Regions from separate parts of the Homo sapiens genome. Here region 2 is linked to region 1. Evidence: promoter capture Hi-C in 16 types of primary human blood cells and fetal thymus (Javierre and others, 2016). All regions are on one chromosome and are shown on one strand. Each heading gives the region's core, a stretch centred on a gene start or on the middle of the fragment in contact. The rest is flanking DNA. Distances are from core to core; before and after follow the strand shown. Region 1 holds the start of SCRN2 (secernin 2). Region 2 holds the start of TBX21 (T-box transcription factor 21).

Region 1 (3,813 bases), core at 1-2,500:
AAAGGTGGCTGCTGCTGCAGCCTTCTTCACGAAGGCACAAGGGCAAAGTCTGCAGAGAGGAGGAGGCCCCTGTGAACCAGGCTGGGGGAGGGATGGATGGGCCCAGGTCAAAACTCAGCCCCTAGATTTCTGGTGTGTCAGGCAGATGAGGAAGGGCAGGGTCTGCACCTGAGTAGGTCCATGCCCAGCAGGGCTTCCCCCTCCCCAACTGGCTCCTTCGTCCACACAGCCTCGTTGCCAATGCAGACACCATGCTCGTTGGCGCCCATCTCAGCCCCCCATAGCCAAGAAGGACGGCTCAGAATCACAGCGTGCGTCTTCGACACCTGTTCCACTTCAATGTAGGTGCACTGGAGGTGAGGGAGGAGAAAGGAAGCGTCCACTCATAGAGGGGCGGCCCCTCGAGTGTGGCACTCTGCCAATTACCTTATAGATCCCTTTGAGGAAGGTCTCATTCCCATTTTACAGAAGAGGAAACTGAGGTAGACTGAGGCTACATAATGAGCTCAGGTCCAGGTTGGTAGACCTAAAGCTCATGCTCTTCCACTACTTCTGGCAGCCTCCCAGGTGTGGGGAGCAGGGAAGAAGGTCTTAAAAGAATGCAGAGATCTGCCACACCTCCCAGCACCCCATAAAGTCTAACCCACCTGGAGCCGGCTCCCAGGAGTGTGAGTGCCTGCGGGGACAAACACCACCTCCTGCACCTCGTCCCGGGGTCGGTCCGAGTTCTTGGCAAAGATCACAGCCGGGATGGCTGAGGCCGGGGGCACGGAGACAAAGCAGTCGCAGGAACATGGGGAGTCAGGGCTCGACGACGCCATCTGGGGAGAGGCGGGCCTCTCCATAACCCTGGCCACGGCTCAGCCCCGAGGAGCAGCCTACCCCCACACGTGTAAAAGACGCGCAAGGAAGACACCGCCGTGGCTCCTGGACGCTCGGCGCACACACCATGGACGGGTGTGCGGGAACGGAGGTGCCCACCCTCTCCCCAGGCTCCAGGCTTGGGAGTCCGCAGGCGGGCACTCCGGGGGTCCCGCCCCCACTGGGAGTCCCGGCCCTTCGGAGCAGTCGTGGGACCGTCCCCCTCGCTACCCCACCAAGAGTCCTGCGGCCCTGCGCATGCCCAGATACCCGACCCTCTTCTGTCCAACCCTTCTCTCACCCCCAGTACTGTATTCCCCTCACCCTCTCTTCCTCCAAGACCCCAGCTCGGTCCCGGGTGCCACCTCCTCCGCTTCTGGCCAGGGCCGCCCCATTGGGCGGAGACTCTCAGGTGACCTGGAAGGCCTTCGGCCTCGGGGTCGGAGCCGGAACGGAGCCTGCAGCTCCGCCGTTTTCCACCAGGGCGCGCGCCTGCACCACTTCCCGGAGCAGAGCGGCCTTGCGAGTCCCACCTGGCTCCCTGTCCTACCCAGGCGCCCATTTGAGGCCTGACAAAGGCTGCTAACCCCACGGAGTCACTGCGGGGAGCTGGAGCTGGGGGTGGAAAGGATCCCGCGTGAAAAGGGAGACTTTGTCAGAGAAAGGGGACTGCTGGGACATCTGGAGATTAAGGAAGAACCTCAGATACTTGAGTCCTGGTTTGAATCCCAGAGGCGCAATCCCAGGCTGGAGGCGCCTAGGGGAATAAGATACAGAATACGAGAGTGGTGGAGGCTGGGTGCGGGGGGCTCGCACCTGTAATCCCAGCACTCTGGGAGGCGGTGGTGGGAGGATCACTTGAACCCAGGAGTTCAACACCAGCCTGGGTAACACAGCAAGACCTCGCCTCTACAGAAAATATTTTAAAATTAGCTGGGCGTGGTGGTGCGTGCCTCTAGTCCCAGCTGCTCTGAAGGCTGAGGTGGGAGGATCTCTTGAGCCAGAGAGATTGAGGCTGCAGTGAGCCAAGATCACACCGCGGTACTCCAGCCGCGGTGACAGAGCAAGACCCTGTCTCTTAAAATAAATAAATAAGGGAAAGTGTGCACAAAACCCATCTGATCCCAGAGGACCTATCTGTCTGATAGTGCTCAAACCCATAGGAAGATCGCTTTAAAGGGAAATTTAGAACTTTCTAGTTCAAAGATTTGGTGCCTTTACCTGTAGTGAAACTGAAACCACAAAGAAGTCTTGGCCAAAGGTGACACACAGTCATGTGGAGGTACACTCTGATCCCAAATGTTTTGATTTTCAGTTCATTTTTCTCTACAAACCATCTCTCCATAGCCATCATTAAGACAAATGCATCTTACACCCTTTTGCTCTGTGGAGCCCTCCAGAATGGAGAGAGGGGAGATGCTGCAGGTTATCTGCTTCTAGGGGTTGCACTGAATCTATAGATGGCTTTGAGTAGTATGCACATTTTAGCAATAGTAATTCTTCCAATCCGTGAGCATGAAATATCTTTCCATGTCTTTGTGTCTTCTTCAGTTTCTTTCATCAATATCTTATTTTCAGAGTACAGATCTTTCACCTCTTTGGTTAAATTTATTCCTAAATATTTTATTATTTTGGTAGCTATTGTAAATGGGACTATTTTCTTGATTTCTTTTTTGTATAGTTTGTTATTAGTGTATAGGAACACTATTGACTTTTGTACATTGACCTTGTATCCTCTGACTTTACTGTATTTGCTTAACAATTCTAACAGTGGGCCGGGTGTGGTGGCTCATGCCTGTAATCCTAGCACTTTGGGAGGCTGAGGTGGGCGGATCCCCTGAGGTTGGGAGTTCAAGACCAGCCTGGCTCACGTGGAGAAACCCCATCTGTACTAAAAATACAAAATTAGCCAGGCGTGGTGGCACATGCCTGCAATCCCAGCTACTTGGGAAGACTGAGGCAGGAGAATCGATTGAACCTGGGAGGCGGAGGTTGCGGTGAGCTGAGATCGCGCCATTGCACTCCAGCCTGGGCAACAAGAGCAAAACTCCGTCTCAAAAAAAAAAAAAAGAAAGAAAGAAAGAAAGAAAACAATTCTAACAGTGTTTTAGTGGAGTTTGGCCTTCTTTCAAGCCTACTGTGCTAGGGTGCTGGCGGTCAGTCATGCTAGGATTAATGGGAAGGTGAAGGCTGTTTCTGATACAGTGTCGGGGAGGGATTGTGAGGTTGCCAATTAATGTCATTCCAGAAGCAAACATCGAAGCTGCGTGCTGAGAAATCTGGGCACCTGAAGCAGCTTGCAGGAAGGCGGGTTCATCTCCTGCAGTTTCCCGGCTTCCCACTGTGGGGCGGAAACAGGCAGGAGGAGAGGCAGAGAGAGGCCACAGCGCACCCCCAGGTTGCAGTTTCCAGGCTGTCTTCTTCTCTGTCACTTTCTCATTTCTTATTTCATTCACCCACCCTAGAGGTTAGGAGTAGATTCTACTTCCACTTCCCAGGAGAGGAACCCAGAGAGCCAGCCCAGATGTTCTGATTTCCCTAACCCTTTCCTGGGCCATCCATGATCCTCCTGCCAGGCACCCCATCTGAGGGGGGTCAGAGGTGGCTTTGGGTTCCGTCGTGGGGGGGATGGGGGGCAGGCCAGCCAGGCAGCATTTCCAGCAAGGAAGCAAGTGTCAGAGCCCCACCAAAGGCCCCTGCTAAGAATGCAGGTCAGCGGGAGGAGCTGCATGGGGAGGAGGGGTGGCCCCAGCCCTGCCCAGACAGGCCCAGCCGGCCGCACAGCTGCCCTCCTGTCCCTGGGGGCAGCGATGGGGGTAAAGGAGGAGGGGACTCACCAAGTTCCTGGGGTCTAACTCCCCTAGAACCAGGAAGACAAAAGAGGCACCTGGAGGAGTGGGGCTGGCATAAGGTCTTAGGAAAACACACCTGTCCTTCCTCCTCCCAGCCTTC
Region 2 (3,813 bases), core at 1,314-3,813, 110 kb before region 1:
CCAGCCTCATAATGCTCCCTGTATTGATGGGATAGAGAGGGCTGGGAGGAGCAGCCATGGGGAAGTGAGGGGATCCCAGGGGGCCTCATCTCCTCACTCCTCTTCTCCCACCTTTCCAGCCCCAGGGCCCGGGAGGAGGGTGAGGTGGCAGCTGGAGGAGAAGGTGTCACTGCCAGGGCCCTTATTCTCACCCAAGCTGGCAGAGGGGCGGGACTGGCAGCAGTGACACCAGGGCCACTCAGCCCCCGCTTTTCACAAGCACTTTCTTTTTTGGGTGGAAGAAATTGGAGAGAGGGGGTGAGAAATCGGGGATTGAGGAACCAGGCTGTAAGACCCTATAACAGCCTGTCAGGTTCTAGAGAGACCACCCCCAGCCTTCCTCTTCCTCCAGAGGCATGGCCCCAGGGCCACCTGATTCTGAGATTCATAATTCCACCTGCCCCAGAAAGCTGGGTGGGAGCTCATGTCATCCTGTTCAGAGGCAAGGGGATGAATCACTTGACCTGAGGATTAATGTGGAAAAGAGGAGGGGGAGAGAGAGGGAGGAGCAAGACTCCATTTGATCTTCAACAGCCAAGCACTGAGCAAAAATGTCCCCCAAAGGGGTGTCAGCATTCAACAGTCTCACATCTCCTAGGGAATCAGTCATTCAGGAGGGTCTTACTGAAAGCTCTCATGTTTCCCCAAAAGTAGTGAAGGATCCCAAGGTCACCCTCTCTTCCAAGCAATGCTGCCCCACTTTGAACATCAGGCAGAAACTTCCCTGTTCCTTAAGGTACGGAGAAATGGTGGGTAAGGTGTTGGGGAGGAGGCCAGTCCTGTGTTTCTGGTACTGTCATGTATCCGGTCTCCAACCTCAAAAGATGTGCTGATTCTCTCTCCCCCAAGCCTCCCTGGGTCATGCCCACCTCCTGGAGTCCCCAGCTTTGCCTTTGCCTGCCAACTTGCCTCTTGGTTCAGCTCTATTTGGGAGCAGAGAGTCCCCATAGGCCCCTAAGGGTGAAGCCCTGTCAGGCTGGGACAGAAATGTAGAGCTGGGGCCAGTTCCCAGGGGAGAACTGGGGAGGACTGGGGTGAAGGTAGAGAGAGGAGAAGTTAAACTTTAACATGACAAAAATATTAAAGTATTTTTCAAAGTACTCTTAAAAATGTAAATCTTTATCTATATACTGATATGCAAAATATTCCATGACACCTTGTGGAGTGAAAAAAAAGTACACATTATAAAGCAGCATGTGTAGTGTTTATATAAATTATATATTTGTGCATGTGTGCAAAAGACAGAGACAGAGAGTATATAAGGAGTGAGGTCTCAGAGGGTGTTCACTGAAATGTTAATCCTGTTTGGCTTTAGGGGGTGGAATTTGGGGTGATTTATACAGTCTTGTTTTTACTTTTCTGTGCTGCTTAAATTTCCTATATAAGTATGTTTCATCTTTATACACAGGAAAACTCCCAATGATGCTATTTTCAATTGGGGGGGGGGAAACGGATAGTTTTCATCATAAAAGGAGTCTAATACATTAGTTAACATAAAAGGAAAATGGAGAAAGAAAAGCCTCCATCGTCCTATCTCCGAGGCAGCCCTTCAGAGCATGTGGTGGGTTTCCTTCCTGTCAGCCGGCTCTGAATCTGTTCAAAGCAGCTTTTCCATCCAGGTATAATAATAGATTGGAAAGTGCTGCACACGTACACCCTCTCATGTAAGGCTTGCAGCCCCCCTGAAAAGTAGATCTGTTTATTTCCCCCAGTCTATGGATGAGGCACGTGAGGTTGACTTTCAGGCAAGGAAAATGACTTGCCTGGGTCACATATACCTGGCAGGCAGAGCCAGACCTGGGACTCTCAGCACTGGCAGCCCAATGCTACTTCCAGTGCCCATGACTGCCATGCAGGGTAGGGGAGCTTTTGTGGGCCCTGCCAGGCCCAGCTCAGGGCCCTGCAAACCCCTGGCTGCTGCTGATGCAGTGCGCTTTAAGGAACATTTCCTGTTGTCCATCAGGTTCCAGGTCTGCCCCCAGGGCTAGAGCTACAAGATGCAGCCAACTCAGCACATGTGGACCTCTGGTGGGGAGAAAGAGGGCAACCCGAAAGGTCACTTAGCACAGAGTCTGGGCACACAGTAGGTATCAATAAAGATCGATTGAATGTTCATGGTCAAAGTTGCTTCTAGTGTGCCCGTGCTCCGAGCCTCTGAGTGCCAGGAGAATGCCCAGCGAGTCCCACTTGGGCCATCTCGGAAGGCTTCCTGTAGGAGAGGGCCTTTGAGCTGAGACTTCAAAGCTGGGCTGAATTTCCCCGAGGGTCCAGAAGAGAGCCACGGGCTGGTGTGTCAGGCAGCGGAGCTGACACTCCCAGAAAGCAAGATCTTCGAACTACAGGGTGCGCGCAGGCTCTCGCTTCTCTCCACCATGGGGGGCCCTGCAGTACTCGCCAAGAGCGTAGAATTTGCCTAGTATTAGCCACGAGAGGGCGGGGTGGGGCGAGGCGGAGCAGGGCCGAGGTGGCGGAGTGGGGGGGAGCCGGAGAGCTTCATAAAGCCACAGCAAAGCGCTGCGACTCTAGTGACAGCGGCCCGCTGGAGAGGAAGCCCGAGAGCTGCCGCGCGCCTGCCGGACGAGGGCGTAGAAGCCAGGCGTCAGAGCCCGGGCTCCGGTGGGGTCCCCCACCCGGCCCTCGGGTCCCCCGCCCCCTGCTCCCTGCCCATCCCAGCCCACGCGACCCTCTCGCGCGCGGAGGGGCGGGTCCTCGACGGCTACGGGAAGGTGCCAGCCCGCCCCGGATGGGCATCGTGGAGCCGGGTTGCGGAGACATGCTGACGGGCACCGAGCCGATGCCGGGGAGCGACGAGGGCCGGGCGCCTGGCGCCGACCCGCAGCACCGCTACTTCTACCCGGAGCCGGGCGCGCAGGACGCGGACGAGCGTCGCGGGGGCGGCAGCCTGGGGTCTCCCTACCCGGGGGGCGCCTTGGTGCCCGCCCCGCCGAGCCGCTTCCTTGGAGCCTACGCCTACCCGCCGCGACCCCAGGCGGCCGGCTTCCCCGGCGCGGGCGAGTCCTTCCCGCCGCCCGCGGACGCCGAGGGCTACCAGCCGGGCGAGGGCTACGCCGCCCCGGACCCGCGCGCCGGGCTCTACCCGGGGCCGCGTGAGGACTACGCGCTACCCGCGGGACTGGAGGTGTCGGGGAAACTGAGGGTCGCGCTCAACAACCACCTGTTGTGGTCCAAGTTTAATCAGCACCAGACAGAGATGATCATCACCAAGCAGGGACGGTGAGTGCGGCGCGCCGGCCCTTGGGGCCTCTGTGCCCGCGCCGGAACAAGAACGTCTCGTCTGTTTTTCTGGCTCGACAATGCTTCTGACTCCGTGTCCCTCACTGCTTTGGCTTCAGCGTAGGGAGACAGGGGAATGGGGTTGTTAGGAGGACAGGGAAAGCTCCGGAGGGGCGTCTGTGCCCAGGCTGTTGCACCAACAGCCAGAGGACTCACAAGGGAGACGGGTGAGTGCGGGACAGTGAGAAGTCACCTTGATTTAGGGGAAGGGTGACTGTGGCTTCACCTAGAATTGGTGTGCGCCCCTGCCCCACTCTCTACTGTAGAGGAGTCGCAGCGGGCAGTGAAAGCCTGTGCTCTGGGCGGACAGGACGCCTGGGCCTCCTGTGTGGGAAACTGGAGGGGAAGGGAGCCCCTTATCTCCGGGCCCCCTGCGCCCACCTCCCCCGGCTCCTTTGCTGCTGGTGTGCTCAGGTCAGCTTTAGTGGTGGTAGTGGTGGTGGTAGCGGTGGTGGTGGTGTGTGTGTACGGGGGGAGATT

What was found. The method cuts DNA at HindIII sites, captures the fragments that hold promoters and counts their contacts. A CHiCAGO score of 5 or more calls a contact.
Region 2: the fragment with the promoter of TBX21 here is called in contact with the fragment with the promoter of SCRN2 in region 1 in 1 of 17 cell types (M1 macrophages); the score reaches 5.2 in M1 macrophages.

The regions. Positions count from the first base shown.
Region 1 is chr17:47,840,023-47,843,835 of GRCh38, forward strand. It overlaps SCRN2 (secernin 2), which reads right to left and starts at 1,251. Exons shown (of 8, transcript NM_138355.4): 1 at 1,186-1,251; 2 at 648-821; 3 at 169-350. The coding sequence starts at 821. RefSeq lists enhancers at 720-819, 723-1,278, 3,101-3,150. The HindIII fragment of the contact is 11,110 bases long and covers 1-3,813 here.
Region 2 is chr17:47,730,673-47,734,485 of GRCh38, forward strand. TBX21 (T-box transcription factor 21) reads left to right here and starts at 2,564. Exons shown (of 6, transcript NM_013351.2): 1 at 2,564-3,273. The coding sequence starts at 2,783. RefSeq lists a promoter at 572-2,571, silencers at 2,383-2,922, 2,953-3,122 and an enhancer at 3,303-3,352. The HindIII fragment of the contact is 7,327 bases long and covers 1-3,813 here.